3 separate regions of the Homo sapiens genome follow, and all the other regions are linked to region 1. Evidence: promoter capture Hi-C in 16 types of primary human blood cells and fetal thymus (Javierre and others, 2016). All regions are on one chromosome and are shown on one strand. The core of a region is centred on a gene start or on the middle of the fragment in contact, and the rest is flanking DNA. Distances in the headings are between cores, read along the strand shown. Region 1 holds the start of TTC17 (tetratricopeptide repeat domain 17). Region 2 holds the start of RPL27A (ribosomal protein L27a). Region 3 overlaps TAF1D (TATA-box binding protein associated factor, RNA polymerase I subunit D).

What was found. Contacts are between HindIII fragments. The CHiCAGO score rates a contact against its expected background, and 5 or more counts as called.
Region 2: a contact is called between the fragment with the promoter of RPL27A here and the fragment with the promoter of TTC17 in region 1, in 1 of 17 cell types (non-activated CD4 T cells). The highest score is 5.7, in non-activated CD4 T cells.
Region 3: a fragment that was not itself captured here is called in contact with the fragment with the promoter of TTC17 in region 1 in 1 of 17 cell types (activated CD4 T cells); the score reaches 12.4 in activated CD4 T cells.

Annotation. Positions count from the first base shown.
Region 1 is chr11:43,357,558-43,360,257 of GRCh38, forward strand. It overlaps TTC17 (tetratricopeptide repeat domain 17), which reads left to right and starts at 1,363. Exons shown (of 24, transcript NM_018259.6): 1 at 1,363-1,556. The coding sequence starts at 1,398. RefSeq lists an enhancer at 1,222-1,491 and a silencer at 1,622-1,701. The HindIII fragment of the contact is 2,829 bases long and covers 944-2,700 here.
Region 2 is chr11:8,681,342-8,684,041 of GRCh38, forward strand. RPL27A (ribosomal protein L27a) reads left to right here and starts at 1,451. Exons shown (of 5, transcript NM_000990.5): 1 at 1,451-1,475; 2 at 1,861-1,924; 3 at 2,665-2,700. The coding sequence starts at 1,473. It overlaps TRIM66 (tripartite motif containing 66), which reads right to left and starts at 1,324. Exons shown (of 25, transcript NM_001388022.1): 1 at 1,260-1,324. RefSeq lists enhancers at 881-2,080, 944-1,013, 1,214-1,403, 1,730-2,372 and a silencer at 1,524-1,723. The HindIII fragment of the contact is 2,972 bases long and covers 1-1,844 here.
Region 3 is chr11:93,736,830-93,739,529 of GRCh38, forward strand. TAF1D (TATA-box binding protein associated factor, RNA polymerase I subunit D) reads right to left here. Exons shown (of 6, transcript NM_024116.4): 2 at 2,408-2,502; 3 at 1,280-1,670; 4 at 235-410. The coding sequence starts at 2,475. Among named protein-coding and RNA genes, the nearest start is that of SNORA40, 2.9 kb to the left of the region's middle. RefSeq lists an enhancer at 1,089-2,288. The HindIII fragment of the contact is 2,451 bases long and covers 83-2,533 here.

The DNA.
Region 1 (2,700 bases), core at 113-2,612:
CTCTCCTGTACATATGCATTCATACACCCCCATTATCCTGTATTTTAATTGTTAACCTGCCAATAATATCTCACTATATTGCACACTGCCCAATGGTTACATTTCCATACCCAGAGACTATCAGAGTACCAGGCAAAAAGCAAATAAGCCATATATTTTTAATGAAATGAATGTTCAGTCTTCAGGCCTTTAAGAAAAGCTGTTCCTGGAATGAAGAAAAAAAAAACACCAATGCTGTGGTTGTTTCTACATTTCTATAGCGTGGTGTTTAAACACTTAGCAACTGCTCTCCTGCATACACTTGTGTAGAGAAGTGGTTAAACAATATTCTCATCCTTCTTTTCCCAAGGAGAAAACCAAAAGCATACCAACCTTAAATAACACACACAGAGGGCAATCTTGAAAGACCTAAAATGACATATCTAGCAAGAAGCTGGCAGCCAAGCTTGACGCCTGCCTGCCTGCCTGTTGGTTCACTAGAAGAAAGTGGTTCTCAAACTTTAATATGTATACCAGTCACCTGAGGCTATTGTTAAAATGTAGTCTGATTCAGCAGGTTGCGGGGGAGAGGGAGAAGAGCCGAGAATGTGCAGGTCTAAAAAGCTCCCAGGTGATGCCAATGTTTCTGGTCTCCAGACCTAGACCTCTAGCTTAGACCTGTGCTGACCAGTACGTTAGCCACATGCGGGTATTAAGCCCCTGAAATATGACTAGATAAGCTGTCAGTGTAACATGCCGATTTCCAAGACTTAGTTAAAAAAAAAAAAACTAAACTATCTCAATGATTTGTACAGACCACATTGAATTAATATTTTGTGTACTTTGAGTTAAATAAAATGTACTAGTAGGGTTACTTCCCTCTATATTTTACATTCCACACGTGGCTCGCATTATAGTGCTACTGGACAGCGGTGCCCTAAACTAACAACCGTCTCCATTCTGAAGCTTCCACTATTGTGAGACTTTAAGAATAAAAGCAACACCTCTCTTCCCATAGGTGGTTCGAAAGCACACCTTTTGTTCCCCAACTATCTACCAGAAATAAAACGAAAAAACAAAGATTTAAAAAACAATAAAATTGAGTCCTTTCACTTCTGCTTAAGCGCCACCTAAGCCACTGCTTTTGTCTCCCTCCGGTTCCCACGCTCCGAGATCGTATCACCCACAGAAAAACAATAACTAAAAAGCGGTCTCCATCCCTGAAGCCAAGCTGGGAGAGTAGCCGAAGGTCGCGCTTCCTGGCCGCCAAAACCGAGGTGGAGGAAACTTGGTAGTCAGCGAGCTACGCCCTCTCGGCTCCTCCTCCTGCTCCTCCTCCAGGGCCGACCTCTTCAAGATGGCGGGCGCCGGAGACTAGCTTCCGCTTCCGGTGTGAGCGGCCCGGCCGGGGGGGCAAGATGGCGGCGGCAGTAGGGGTTCGTGGCCGGTACGAGCTGCCGCCTTGCTCCGGCCCAGGCTGGCTCCTCAGCCTTTCCGCCTTGCTGAGTGTGGCGGCACGAGGGGCCTTCGCCACCACGCACTGGGTCGTCACGGAGGACGGGAAAATCCAGCAGCAGGTAGCGGCCGGGGCGTCCCTCTTCTCCCGTGCCCGCCCTCGCCCCGGGGGGATTACCCTGCTTGGCCCCTGGCTGTTGGGCTCCGCGCGGCCCCGCCCCCAGCCTACCCTCACAGGGAGGTGGCACCGCGACCTCGGACTCCCTGCATTCGGACCAGGCAGGCACTTCCCGCTCCCCACTTGTCTCCTGGTCCTCGTTTGGCCCCCTAGAAGTTCTCACCCTTCCACCTCGCGGGCCGCGCGCCGCGTGGGGAAGAGTCGCCCAGCTGCGGGAGACGGGCCCTACGGACCTTTTTTTAGCTCGGGGTTTAGAAATCACAGATTTCAGGATTCCTGCCTTTGGTGCCTCTCGGGTTCACGCGTCACCGGCCCTCCCCGAGGAAATAGAAAGCAGGTGGCAGCTCCAGGGTGTGCGCGAGTCCCATGGTATGACAGCTTCTGGACCCCTAGCCTGTGGACCATTCGTGCTGCTCCCCTAGTCTCGTCTACCACATGGTGGATTTCGTTTCTGGTTGTGTTGGTTTCAGCTTGTACCGTTACTCAGGTCAGCAGTGGCTCATTAGAAACAACATAGAAACACTCCCCTTCAGAAGGAATGCTTGAAGATGCCGCTGGTGGCGTTGCCTGCATCTTTTCAGCTGTTACTGCCCTCGTTTCCCAGTGCACTTTGCTTTGTTTCTTTACCTAGTTCTTGTGACCCAGCCTCGCATGGAGGATATGCGATTTCCTGGATTCTTGTATGCCTGAACTAATTCCTCAGAGGCGAGACTGCTTTTCTTATATAACTTTATGATTGCCTGCGTTTTGTAAATGCTGCTGATGCCTAACGAGTGCGTGTGTGTGTTCCGCTACAGAATATTGGTAAACTTACTGACTTCGAACACTTGAGGACAATCTTGAAGTGTCTAGCAAACATTTAGAAAGTGAATTGTGTGCCCCATGCAATTTAGCCCACTGATCTAAAACGTTTTAACTAGTGTGGTGGGAAATTACTGGTCCTTTGGATTGTGTGTAATGAATCATGATAGGAACACATTCCAACGTTTAAGGTGAGGTTTAGATTTAGATTTGCCGTGTAATGTAATTGCAAATTCTATCTCAAGTAAGTTAAGTATAACTAAAAATCCGCCTAGGTATTCATGAGT
Region 2 (2,700 bases), core at 201-2,700, about 35 Mb before region 1:
CCAGGATGGTCTCGATCTCCTGACCTCGTGATCCGCCCGCCTCGGCCTTCCAAAGTGCTGGGATTACAGAAGTAAGCCACCACGCCCGGCCAGAATTTTGGATATTTTAGCTAAAATATATTTTAGCTGAAGGGGGCAAGACAAAGAAAAATAAATAAATACACGCTCACACATACACACAGAGAATAACTGAGGGGATGGGATTTTAAAAATTTATTTCATTTTTCCCATGGGATCTATTAATAGACTAGCGAGGGGATGGGATCTTGAACACTGGTTGAAGGAACCGACTTAAGAGCGAAGACATGCTGCTATTAGCGAAGACAGGGAGGTGAGGGTAAGTTCATTTATTCACTCAACAATCACTAGTTGAGTGTGGATTAAAAAAAACAGTCCTTGACCACATAAGGAATTAGGTCTAGTAGGGAAGACAAACGTAGGTCAATAAATTACATAAGGGTTATACTAGATTGTGTGGTGGTACAGGTGGGGAAGCGAGCAACTGTCTGCATTGTGTCCAGGAAAGGGTCACAGGCGTGTTATGTAGATTCTGGAGAAAATTCAAAAATAGCATTTATTTTTACTTATTTACTTTTGTATGTGGAGACGAGGGTCTCACTATGTTGCCCAGGCTGGTGTTGAACTACTCGCCTCAAGAAATCCTCCCGCCTCGACCTCCCAAAGTGTTGGGACTACAGGTGTGAGCCACCGCGCCTGGCCTAAATGTGGCATTTAGAAAAAGTATTTACAACATCTGCATTAAAAGGACCATAAAGCAACCAGGCATCTAAGTCCCTGAAGCAATTTAAGTTGCTCAAACTTGAGAGGACAACCAAATGATAGCAAAAGGGCAAAAGAGAAAGGAAGCTGCAGTGCCCACTCAGAAGTGTGAGAGCGGGAGAAGGCATTTCGGGAGCCGCCCGAGCTTCAGGAAACCGAGCGAGACACCAGGTGGGCACACTGAGGATTAAAGAGGGCCTCGCGGTTCCGCACTGCGGCCGGGAGACAAACCAGTAGCCACTATCACCAGCCCCGGGCAGACCACTAAGAACTGTGGAGGTGCGCGGGGCGGCTCAGGGCTGGCGCATTTGGTGAGGAGCTCAGACAACGAGGCCCTTAGGGTCGGCTTAGGCGGTTCCCTGACCAAGGCGCCAGAAAAGGGCCTGGCTCAAGCAAGCACGGGCGGCGTGCAGTACAGCACACCTAGCCCCGATTCTTCAACAGTTCTCGCCCTCCGAGCCTAGCACAACGAGCCTCACCGAAACCGTACACCGCCACCAGGACACTCCGTGATGGGGGATCACCACCCTCAGAAAGAGGAAGCGACTAGCAGGCGCGCAATCCCGCGAGACCAGGAGGCCCCGCCCGAAGCCCGGCCTCTGTGACCGGAAGTGAGGCGTTTTGCCCCGCCCCCGTGGCCGATACCTCGCGAGACTTGGCGAAGGCCTTCCTTTTTCGTCTGGGCTGCCAACATGGTAGGTGTTTCGTTTCTTGCCTCCTCTTCCTTGCCGGCGGAGACCCCTAAGCTGTATTCCCATTGCCCCTAGTCATCCACTCCCTACCATGGTCGGGGCTTCCAGGCTGCGCATGGCCGCCTGCGGGGCAGGGTGGCCGGCGCGGGCCCGGGGCGGGGCTCCCGGAGCCGTGTGTTAGGCCCGCGGTTCGGATCTCTAGGACACGCGGGCCCCTGCGCTACCGTGGTGAGACCTCACGGCCCTGAGCGGATCGGTACCCTCAGCTTTCCCAAACGCTCCAGAAGTTAGGTCTTTGACCCACAGGCTTACAGGACCATCTCGGCTGGCGGGCATCGCCCCCTGCCCCTAATTCCTTAGGCCTTACCACCAAGCTTTTTCCACACAGCCATCCAGACTGAGGAAGACCCGGAAACTTAGGGGCCACGTGAGCCACGGCCACGGCCGCATAGGTAAGTGCCGGCTTCCCCTCGGGGTGGGCCTTGGGCTCTCTTCGGGTGCTTAGCTAGTCTGGAGATCGGTAGCCTATAAGTGGGTTAGAATAAGACCTTTTTGTGGTCAAGTTGCACAGCTGTTGATTTTTTTCTGACGATCCTCTAGTATTCCAGTTCTAAGGAATTTCACATCAGTGGGGTAATAGGAATTGAGCAGGCACGGTATTGGGTTAGTTGAAGACATGGAGTACTGTGGGAATGCTGTGATGTGGAACCTGAAAAGATGTTTCACCCGGAATCCTAAAGTAATCGCATTGCTGAAAACCGGCATCGGTAGGGTGGGAACAGCGTAAGCGGGACACAGAAGTCTGGGAAACACTCTGCTTTTGTGCGAGGAAGTATTGAGATGCATGAGAAGGCTGTGTGGTGCATGTAGCTTTTTTGTGTGTGTGTGAGACTGATCACTGTCGCCCAGGCTGGAGTGCAGTGGCGAAATCTCGGCTCACTGCAACCCCTGCCTGCCGGGCTCAAGCGATTCTCCTGCCTCAGCCTCCCGAGTAGCTGATATTACAGGTGTGCGCCACGACGCCCGGCTAATTCTTTTTCTATTTTTAGTAGAGTCGGGGGTTTCTCCGTGTTGGCCAGGCTGGTCTCGAACTCCTGACCTCAGGTGATCTACCCCCCCTCGTCCTCCTAAAATGCTGGGATTACAGGCATGAGCCATCACACCGGCCCCACGTAGCTTTGTATTCCTGCAGGCAAGCACCGGAAGCACCCCGGCGGCCGCGGTAATG
Region 3 (2,700 bases), core at 58-2,557, about 50 Mb after region 1:
ACTGAAACTGCAATACTAGTCAAAGGAAACACAAAATTTGAGAATTTTGTGTTCTGGAGAATTCTAGATGAACGGTGTGCCAAGCTTGGCTCAACTGTAATAATCCCAATTGTCATACTCTGTATCTTTGTTCATTATTTAAGTATAACTATATTAAAGGCAAAATATGAAGCAATTAACATAGAAATTTAATTTATAACCTATTACCAAAGTATTTCATATGATTCCACTTACGTTGACTCCTCAATAGGAGAAATGGATCCATCATCATCCAAAAATTTGTATCTACGACTGTCAAAATCTTCATTTTCTAAATCTTCACCAACATTCATTTGCTTCAATGATTCTTTCAGGTGGTGTTCATACTTCAGTTTTTCAATATAGTTAAAAAATCCTCTTGCAACAGCTTGCTATATATTAAAAACACCATAAGTATGTCGAGATTTTATTTTTAAGACCCAGCAGGTGCCTATGTTCAAAAAGGGCAATGCCCCCCCTTAGCAAAGACTCTGAATTTGCTATCTTAACTACTCCCCACTTGTGGACTTATCAAATGCTGATTATTAAAATTCACATTACAATTATGAATTTACCTAAGCTGGTAACATGGAAAAGTGAAGTACATATCTTGTCATGTCTGGGACTTACTAAAGGCATTTTAAAATGTAAAAACAGGAATAAGATTTCTAATGTTTACTATAATCACCTTAAACTTAAGAGATTAACTGAAGAGATTAACATGTATTAATCCTCCCAAATAAAATTTCAGGTTCTGGCAAGGGATCATAAATTAATTCTGAATTCATTCAACATACAACTCTCAAATATTTAAAAAAGTCTACTCCTAAGTATTAGCGTATTTTTCAGATAATTGGCTTAGAAACATCTAGGCCTTAAGAATATATCCACTGAACATAAGGCATGTGTGGTTTTAGTTTAGGTTACTGCAAAAGTAATTTCAAGTTATGTGAGCTTTTATTATCCCCACTGAGTTTTAGGGTTGTGTTTAAAGACCTGAGATGGGATAAGATCAAAGGATTTTATACAAAGAGCCTTGGAGCACTATCTTTTAAATATGGCAAAGTGTAGTTATATTAAGAGATACAAGTCAAGATTCAGTTGAAGGATAGGGTGGACTTTAGGGGTAAGTCAGTATAGAAGAGTATCAAAATTGCAGACAGTCTGTTCCCAGTATATCTGAGACAATTCTAAATTGGCCAACAAATCATTTTGGGCATCTTGAGTTATGTGTAGCCATGTATGTAAAATGCTGACTCACCTCAAACGTTAAAATTTTTCTCCAAGGTGCGTTTTTTTCATTCTCTGATTCTAAAAATGGGAAGCCAGATCCTCTGCTTCTAAATTGTTTCTTCTTATCTATTAGTGAGTATATAGGATTTCTCCTTCCTTCTGGTCTTCCCCGTGGTCTTCCTGTTGGCTGGTACCTCCTCTTTTTCTTTTTTTTATATCTCTTTTTCCTGTTCTTGAATCTTTCAAAAATAGCTTTTATAGTCAATGGTATTGGTTCAAAAGATGAGTCACTTGATGAATCACTTGCGTGAACACTTTCAGGTGTACGAACAAATTTTCGAATGGGGTTTCTTTTCTCCCCTTTAGGTGAGTAAGGGATACACTGAGTTTTAAATAAGCTGCTATCAGAAGAGTTATCACTAGAAAAATGGGAAAAAAATTAATTTCATCTTCTTTTCTTACTGCTTATTACCATTAATACCCAGTCCTAAATGTACATTTCTTCCAAGACCAACTCAGAAAACATGCCCAGAATTAAAAATTTTTTAAAGGATGGGCTCAGAACCAGCTAGCCTTTCTACTGATCATCCTATTTAAATAGCCCATAATGCTACAGCTCTTATTAAAGAGTTTTGTAGACATCGTCTTGCTGTCACCCAGACTGGAGTGCAGTGGTGCAATCACAGCTCACTGCAACCTCAAACTCCTGGAAACTCCAGGGATGCTCCTGCCTCAGCCTCCCAAGTAGCTAGCTAGGACTAATGGCATGCACCACTATGCTCAGCTTACAAAAAAACTGTATCTTTCAAGACAATGTATGAGCTCCAAAAGGCTGTATGGTTCGGTTCACTGCTAAGAGTGTCTGAGTAAAACAAACACAGCCTACCGAACCGGAGGATGTAGTCTGGAAGAGATGCTAATATGACCCAAAGAATACATTTTTTCTCGACGAATGTGTCCCATAATATATTCACATTTTGAATTTAAAGTATTTGCAATGCTATTATATCAATCTATGTAACTAGATAAACTTGGAAGGTCAGTGAAATCTAGTTTTCCTTCTTTCCCAATTCCTGAAAATTATCTTTACTGTCACTCATTATATACAATAGTTTCTCATAATTCAGATACAATAAACATGATTGAATCCACTCACCTTCGATTTGCAAGTTCCACAGCATCAGATGTCACATGGTCAAGAGAATCTATTCCTGATTTATCCATCAATTGCTCTTTGTTTTAAACAGTTTTCTGAAATTATGAAATTTAGTAAATATGACAAAGCTTCCCTAAATATTGACAGTATCTACTACAGTGTTGAACGTGGTCAGACTATGCCAATGATTTCAGGCGAAATCATTTACCAAGGTTAAGCTTCTTATCCATTTCAGATCAGTTTCTTTAAAAAGAAATCCAGAAATTCTATTCACAGGTTCTTTCAGTTGTTAC